Regions from separate parts of the Homo sapiens genome. Here region 1 is linked to region 2. The links are contacts of gene promoters, found by promoter capture Hi-C in human tissues and cell types (Jung and others, 2019). All regions are on one chromosome and are shown on one strand. Each heading gives the region's core, a stretch centred on a gene start or on the middle of the fragment in contact. The rest is flanking DNA. Distances are from core to core; before and after follow the strand shown.

Evidence for each region. Contacts are between HindIII fragments. The study calls those that stand out against the background at their distance.
Region 1: the fragment with the promoter of OR7G3 here is called in contact with a fragment that was not itself captured in region 2 in 2 of the 25 tissues and cell types used here (H1 embryonic stem cells and dorsolateral prefrontal cortex).

The regions. Positions count from the first base shown.
Region 1 is chr19:9,123,831-9,128,222 of GRCh38, reverse strand. It overlaps OR7G3 (olfactory receptor family 7 subfamily G member 3), which reads left to right and starts at 1,273. Exons shown (of 1, transcript NM_001001958.1): 1 at 1,273-2,211. The coding sequence starts at 1,273. The coding sequence ends at 2,211. The HindIII fragment of the contact is 7,276 bases long and covers 1-3,923 here.
Region 2 is chr19:9,278,892-9,283,441 of GRCh38, reverse strand. It overlaps the pseudogene OR7H1P. Among named protein-coding and RNA genes, the nearest start is that of ZNF699, 29 kb to the left of the region's middle. The HindIII fragment of the contact is 5,089 bases long and covers 1-4,550 here.

The DNA.
Region 1 (4,392 bases), core at 24-2,523, 150 kb after region 2:
GGGGCTGCACCAGTAATAATAGGAAGAGTGGGTGCAGTGGCTCAAGCCTGTAATCCCAGCACTTTAGGAGGCTGAGGCGGGTGGATCACTTCAAGTCAGGAGTTCAAGACCAGCCTGGCCAACATGGTGAAACCCTATCTCTGTTAAAAGTATAAAAATCAGCCAGGTGTGTTGGCACACACCTGTAGTTCCAGCTACTTGGGAGGCTGAGGCAGGAGGATCACTCAAACCCTGGAGGAAGAGGTTGCAGTGAGCTGAGATCCCACCACTGCACTCCAGCCTGGGTAGCAGAGCGAGACTCCATCTCAAAAAAAAAAAGAAAAGAAAAAAATAATGGAAAGAGGGTCTGATGCATGGCTTACTGTTAAAATTTTCTTTATTAACATTATCTGTGATACAAATGAAAGACAGATGAAGGCAAATAAAAATAGTGGGAGGGGCTTATGCTGCTAGATAAAGAGGGCTTAATTTTTATTTTCACAAACTGTAATGAGAAAGGGAAATTGGTGGGTGAGAAAGACACTGATAGGGTACCTAGGAAGGAAGTAAAGAACAGGCTGGGCATGGGGGTTCATGCCTGTCATCCCAGCTATTTGGGAGGCTGAGAGAGGAGGATTGCTTGAGCCCAGGGGGATGAGGCTACAGTGAGCTATGATCATGCCACTGCACTCCAGCATGGATGACAGAGAGAGAGAGACCCTGCAAAGAAGAAAGAAGGAAAGAAAGAAGGAGGGAAGGAAGGGAGGAAGGAAGGAAGGAAGGAAAGAAAGAGAGAGAGAGAGAGAAAGGAAGGAAGGAAGGAAAAGAGAGAGAAAGAAAGAGAGGGGGGAAGGAGGGAAGGAAGGAAGGAGAAAAAGAGGAGGGAGAGAGGGAGGGAAGGAGGGAGGGAGAGAGAGAAAGAAAGAGAAAGAAAGGAAAGGAAGAAAGAAAGAAAAAGGAGAAAGAAAGAAAGAAGGAAAGAGAAAAGAAAGAAAGAGAAAGAGAAAAAGAAAGAGGAGGGAGAGAGGGAGGGAGGGAAAGAAAAAGAAAGTAAGAAGAAAGAAAGAAAGAGAAAGAAAGAAAGACGGAGGGAGAGAGAGAAAGAAAGAAAGAGAGAGAAAGAGAAAGAGAGAGAGGGAGAGAGAGAAAGAAAGAAAGAAAGAAAGAAAGAAAAAGAAAGGAAGGAAGGAAGGAAGAAAGAAAGAAAGAAGGAAGGAAGGAAGGAAAAAAGGTCTATAACTTATAACTGGTTTGGTTTTGATAATATTGACAAGATCAAGACTCATCAACAACATGAAAGCAGGAAACTTCTCAGACACTCCAGAATTCTTTCTCTTGGGATTGTCAGGGGATCCGGAGCTGCAGCCCATCCTCTTCATGCTGTTCCTGTCCATGTACCTGGCCACAATGCTGGGGAACCTGCTCATCATCCTGGCCGTCAACTCTGACTCCCACCTCCACACCCCCATGTACTTCCTCCTCTCTATCCTGTCCTTGGTCGACATCTGTTTCACCTCCACCACGATGCCCAAGATGCTGGTGAACATCCAGGCACAGGCTCAATCCATCAATTACACAGGCTGCCTCACCCAAATCTGCTTTGTCCTGGTTTTTGTTGGATTGGAAAATGGAATTCTGGTCATGATGGCCTATGATCGATTTGTGGCCATCTGTCACCCACTGAGGTACAATGTCATCATGAACCCCAAACTCTGTGGGCTGCTGCTTCTGCTGTCCTTCATCGTTAGTGTCCTGGATGCTCTGCTGCACACGTTGATGGTGCTACAGCTGACCTTCTGCATAGACCTGGAAATTCCCCACTTTTTCTGTGAACTAGCTCATATTCTCAAGCTCGCCTGTTCTGATGTCCTCATCAATAACATCCTGGTGTATTTGGTGACCAGCCTGTTAGGTGTTGTTCCTCTCTCTGGGATCATTTTCTCTTACACACGAATTGTCTCCTCTGTCATGAAAATTCCATCAGCTGGTGGAAAGTATAAAGCTTTTTCCATCTGCGGGTCACATTTAATCGTTGTTTCCTTGTTTTATGGAACAGGGTTTGGGGTGTACCTTAGTTCTGGGGCTACCCACTCCTCCAGGAAGGGTGCAATAGCATCAGTGATGTATACCGTGGTCACCCCCATGCTGAACCCACTCATTTACAGCCTGAGAAACAAGGACATGTTGAAGGCTTTGAGGAAACTAATATCTAGGATACCATCTTTCCATTGATGTCTCAGCTTCTTGGGCTTACACTGCTGGGATATGTCAGGGAGAAAGAAGTAATGAGAAGTCTTGAAAGCCTGACTAATGTCTTTGGGGTTTTCTGTTTTTGTTTTTGTTTTTGTTTGTTTGTTTGTTTTTTGAGATGGAGTCTCGCTCTGTTGACCAGACTGGAGTGTAGTGACGCAATCTTGGCTCACTGCAACCTCCGCCTCCTGGGTTCAAGCGATTCTCCTGCTTCAGCCTCCGGAGTAGCTGGGATTACAGGCACGTGCCACCAAGCCCAGCTAATTTTTCTATTTTTAATAGAGACGGGGTTTCACCACATTGGCCAGGATGGTCTCGAACTCCTGACCTCAGGTGATCTGCCCGTCTCAGCCTCCCAAAGTGCTGGGATTACAGGCATGAGCCACTGTGCCCCACCTGACCAATGTCTTTGAATACATGAGACCAGAGATCAGATGGTTCAGGGTGATAGTTTTGGAATCGGACCACGTGGACTTGAGTTCTTTTTGGATTGATTGACTGACTAATTGATTTTTGAGACAGTCTCTCACTTTGTTGCCCAGGCTGGAGTGCAGTGGTGTGATCACAGCTCACTGCTGCCTCGAATTCCTGGGCTAAAGCGATCCTCTGGACTCAGCCTGACGAGTAGCTGAGACTGCAGGTGCATGCCACCACACCTGGCTTTTTTTAAATTTTTGTATCAATGCATAAGAGATGTACATTGTTTCAGGATGCATGTGATAGTGTAATACATTTGTATAATCTGCAAGGATTTGTTACTTTAGATATCCATCACCTTAAATATTTGTCTTATCTTTATGCTCCAACCATTCCAATTGTTCTCTTCTAGGTATTTTGAAATATACAATGGATTATTTTGAACTATAGTCACCCTACTGGTCTATCCAATACTAAGTCTTTTTTTAAAAAAAATTAAATTTAATTAAAAATTTAAAAACTTATTTATTTATTTATTTATTTATTTATTTATTGAGACAGAGTCTTGCTCTGTCGCCCAGTCTAGAGTGCAGTGGCTCAATTTCGGCTTACTGCAACCTCCACCTCTGGGGCTCAAGCGATTCTCCTGCCTCAGCCTCCTGAATAGCTGGGATTACAGGCGCCTGCTACTGTGCCTGGCTCATTTTTGTATTTTTAGTAGAGACAGAGTTTCACCATGTTGGCCAGGCGGGCCTTGAACTCCTGACCTCAGGTAATCTGCCCGCCTCAGCCTCCCAAAGTGCTGGGATTACAGGCATGAGCCACCATGCCCAGCTAGCTAATTTATTTTTAATTTAAAAATTAAGTAATTTATTTACAATTTAAAAATCAAGTAATTAATTTTTAATTTTAATATTAAATGATTAATTTCTTTTTTAGAGAGAGCCTTGCTCTGTTGCCGAGGTTGAACTACAGTGGTGTGATTATAACTCACTGCAGCCTCAAACTCCTGGCCTCAAACAATCCTTCTGCCTCAGCCTTCCAAAGTGCTGGGATTAAGCAGTGTGAGCCACTGTGCCCAGGTCGCCTATACTTTAAATCATTTCTAGATTACTTATATTACCTAGCATAATGTTAATCCTATGTAAATAGTTGTATTACTTAATATTGTATTTTTGTAATATTCTTATTTAATATTTTTAAAATTTTCTTTAATATTTTTAATATTTTTGATCCACAGTTGGTTGAGTCCATGAATGTGGTACTGGCAGATATGGAAGGCTGACTGTACTTGGTATATATATTGTTAAAATTGTCAGAATCAAAATGGAGTCACTTATTAAAAAAAAAAAAGGCTGGGTGTAGCGGCTATCAAAAAAGTCTGCACTTTGATAGGCTGAAGTGGGCGGATCACAAGGTCAGGAGTTCGAGACCAGCCTGGCCAACATGGTGAAACCCCATCTCTATGAAAAATACAAAAATTAGCCAGACGTTGTGGCGCATATCTGTAATCCCAGCTACTCAGGAGGCTGAGGCATGAGAATCGCTTGAACCTGGGAGGCGGAGGTTGCAGTGAGCCAAGATCGCACCACTGCATTCCAGCCTGGGCGACAGAGCAAGACTCCATCTCATGAAAAACAAACAAACAAACAAAAATGAAAAAAACAAAAACATCCTGACAAGTAAAGCTAGGGAAGGCCATGAAGAGATTTATTTCACTTGCATGCCTAATAACAAAAACTATCA
Region 2 (4,550 bases), core at 1,194-3,693:
ACCGGGACTGGCAGGCAGCTCCACCTGCAGCCCCAGTGCGGGATCCACTGGGTGAAGCCAGCTGGGCTCCTGAGTCTGGTGGAGATATGGAGAACCCCTATGTCTAGCTCAGGGATTGTAAATACACCAATCAGCACCCTGTGTCTAGCTCAGGGTCTGTGAATGCACCAATGGACACTCTGTATCTAGCTACTCTGGTGGGGCCTTGGAGAACCTTCATGTCTAGCTCAGGGATTGTAAATACACCAATCGGCACTCTGTATCTAGCTCAAGGTTTGTAAACACACCAATCAGCACCCTATGTCTAGCTCAGGGTTTGTGAATGCACCAATTGACACTCTGTATCTGGCTACTCTGGTGGGGCCTTGGAGAACCTTTGTGTGGACACTCTGTATCTAGTTAATTTAGTGGGGACGTGGACAACCTTTGTGTCTAGCTTAGGGGTTGTAAAGGCACCAATCAGCACCCTGTCAAAACAGACCACTGGCTCTACCAATCAGCAGGATGTGGGTGGGGCCAGATACCAGAATAAAAGCAGGTTGCCCCAGCCAGCAGTGGCACCTCGCTCGGATCCCCTTCCAAGCTATGGAAGCTTTGTTCTTTTGCTCTTTGCAATAAATCTTACTACTGCTTACTCTTTGGGTCCACGCTGCTTTTATGAGCTGTAACACTCACCGCGAAGGTCTGCAGCTTCACTCCTGAAGCCAGCGAGACCACGAGCCTACTGGGAGGAACGAACAACTCCAAACGCGCTGCTTTAAGAGCTGTAACACTCACAGTGAAGGTCTGCAGCTTCACTCCTGAGCCAGCGAGACCATGGACCCACCAGAAGGAAGAAACTCCGAACACATCCGAACATCAGAAGGAACAAACTCCAGACGCGCCACTTAAGAGCTGTAACACTCACCGCGAGGGTCTGCGGCTTCATTCTTGAAGTCAGTGAGACCAAGAACCCACCAATTCTGGACACAAGGTGGCTCCTGTGGTGGGTCCACATTGTCAAACCTTCATAGCTCAGTAAGTGTTGAGGGAAATAGGGAAAAGAGATGATTGAGGGGAAAGGCATTGACTTGTTAATCATAGGGCAGGAGAAACCCTGTGATGTCCACGGAGAAGGGGCTGTTGAGGCTGATTTCTTGGAAGGGAGAATGGCTAGACTACTTGCTTAAATAGCCATTGTATAGCGAGCTTTAACTTTGCCTGTATATTACTTGGGTAGATGACTGATGGAGGTTATAGGAAGGGCTACTCTTTGTTGGCCTGGGGCACTGTTTGATATCTTAGCGCTGCCCTGGATCACTCTGTGTGGTCTTGGAGTGACCAATCTGCATTGTACAAATGGATGCTCCAAGGTACATGATAGGAATTGCAATTCTCCCTGGGGCCTGGAGGGAAAGATGGATTTAGGGCAGGCAAAACTAAGGACAAGGAAACAGGGTTGGGGATTCCTCATATCATTGGAATTGAGGGGAACAACTCAGGAATATTTTTGCAGAAGAAAAACAAAGGCCAGGAGAGGTAAAGGAATGAGGTCAATGTCTTGCTAACAATCTCAGCTTAAGGACGAGACTTGACTTCAAGTGAAATGAAGGGAATTATGGAAAAGAATCCTGCAGGTTTCAGTAGGAGCTGTAGGTGCCTTGCAGTGAAGTCCTGGTCACTTCTAGTTCTTTTCACCTACTACCTGACCCAAGAACTTCAGAGGCCCTCAGCCTAGATCAAGCCTCTCTGAATTCTTCTCTGTGACCCTCACTTGCTTGGAAACATCTCCTGCCTCTCCAGAAAGACTTATCCTTCCCCATCCTTCTTTACCCTTATCCATGATTCTAAGTAGACACCTTCAAGAGACAAGCGTCTGTGTTCCCTGGAATGGAAGGCCATGGTGTATAACAACTAGGGTACGATGGGTGAGTGAGGGAAAGTGAAGGGCTCAGGCAAGCCCAACATCCAGTCTCCTCTTGACATCGTATCCTCTGGGGAACACGAGGGAAGCATTGAAACCTGCAGGATTCTTTTCCATAATTCCCTTCATTTCACTTGAAGGTCAAGTCTCATCCTTAAGCTGAGATTGTTAGCAAGACATTGACCTCATTCCTTTACCTCTCCTGGCCTTTGTATTTCTTCTGCAAAAATATTCCTGAGTTGTTCCCCTCAATTCCAATGATATGAAGAATCCCCAACCCTGTTCCCTTATCCTTAGTTTTGCCTGCCCTAAATCCATCTTTCCCTCCAGGCCCCAGGGAGAATTGCAATTCCTATCATGTTACTCCTTTGATTGCCGTTCCTTCACAGCCCCATCCTTTATGGATTATACTTTTCAAAGTTCTTAGACATGTCATCCCTGCCCACCTCTCCAACATCATCCTCATCGTTTCTATCTAACACTTTGTACTTAAGCAGCAGCAAAGGGCTAAGAGAACTCTGTCCCATGCTGCTTCTTGCTTCTAGGCTTATTCCCTTGCTTATATCTCTGCCAGAAATGCCCCTGTGCAACCATTCACCTGGGTAACTCCTTGCCCAGGTATTCCTTCCTCCAGGACTCCTTCCCTGAATGCATTACTCCAGGCTGGATTGAGGGTTCCTCTCTGTACTCCACTCTGTACATCGTTTTATTTTAGCACTTAATTCACTGTGTTACAATGATCTGTTTCTGAATCCATCTTCTGGAAGGTGGAACCATAAGAAAAAAAAGACCACATCATTAATCTTTGTATCCCCAACAGCTAACACTTAGCCTGGCCCAAAGAAGACCCTCTTGCAGAATGGCTGTTAGCACTTTTTCAGTGACTGACAACCTAGTTGTCAACCTAGTTCAATTCTTCTGTACTTCCCAGCACGGCTCAACAAAAATTATGCACCAGGCCACGTGCTGTGGCTCATGCCTGTAATCCCAGCACTTTGGGAGGCCGAGGTGGGCAGATCACCTGAGGTTGGGAGTTGAAGACCAGCCTGGCCAACATGGTAAAACTAACTAGTTTTTGTAAAAAACTAGCTAGTTAGTTTTGTATTTTTACAAAAACTAGCTGGGCATGGTGGTGCACACCTGTAATCCCAGCTACTCAGGAGGCTGAGGCAGGAGAATTGTTTGAACCCGGGAGGCAGAGGTTATAGTGAGCCGAGATTGCGCCACTGAACTCTCCAGCCTGGGTGACAGCTCAAGACTCTGTCTCAAAAGAAAAGAAAACAAACAAAAACCCAACAACAACAAAAAAAATTGTGCACCAACACTAGACACTAGAAACAGATTAGGACATATTTATTATGTGGATGGAAAAAGAGAATCATATAAGTGTCAAATGACTGTATCTTTCTGGTCTCTAATTTTGAAACCCTGGTTCTAAGGTAGAAAGTTTTTAATGTGCGGTCAGCTTCTTAAGATGAATGTTATTACTGGTAATGTCATGACCTATTTGAATCAGAATTTGGCTGCCACCATAATTCCAAGTGGGACTTAAGGCAACAAGTAACCCTTCCTTCCTTCCTTCCTTCCTTCCTTCCTTCCTTCCTTCCTTCCTTCCTTTCTTCCTTTCCTTCCTTCCTTCTTTCCTTCCTTCCCTTCCTTCCTCCTTCCCTCCCTCCCTTCCTCTTTCCTTCCTTGAAAACCTAAATCCACTCATCTTGCAATATTTTGTCTAGCTATTATCTCTGCTTTCATATTTTCTCACTGCTCAGACATAGTTGTCTGACCTTCTTCAGTCTCAGTTGTGTCTTAGACAAGGAAGATGACCCTGACCTTTTCTTAAGTTCACTGAACCTTATATGTGTTAGAGCAGGTGCAGACCATTTTATCTCTAAGGTCTAAAGTTGCTCTTGGTAGATTTGATGATTCTAAAGCAGAGAAAAAGGGAATGGGTAAGCCTCTGAGAGGCCAATGAACAGGGGTTAGTCAACGTTATGAAATGTTGCCTATAACAAATGACAGAATGTAGGATTCCTAAGTTTTGCTATTTTAAAGCTTTTGTATCCAATTATTCACCTCAAGAAATAAAAAAGCAGAGAGATTTTGGAGCCTGTTCAGCATCTATTTCATGTTTCTTCCCTTCCTTAACTGTCTAGCTGATGTGTCAGCAACATGGACTTGGGAAATCAAACAAGAGTTTCAGAATTTTTACTCCTGGGATTTTCCCAAGACCTAGAGGATCAACAGTTGCTCTTTGCACTGTTTCTGTCCATGTACCTGGTCACCGTTCTGGGGAACCTGCTCATCATCCTGGCCATCAGCTCTGACTCCCACCTCCACACCCCCAGGTACTTCTTCCTCTCCAATCTGTCCCTGGCTGACATCGGTTTCACCTCCACCGCAGTCCCCAAGATGCTGGTGAACATCCAGGTGCAGAGCAATGCCATCAGCTATGCAGACTGCATCGCCCAGATGTATGTTTTTCATGGTTTTTGGAGGCATGGACACATTTCTCCTCACCGTGATGGCCTATGACCGGTATGTGGCCATCTGTCACCCCCTGTACTACTGTGTCACCAGGAACCCCTGCCTCTGTGGCCTGCTGGTTCTTGTGTCCTGGTTCCTCAGCTTGTCATACTCCCTGATCCAG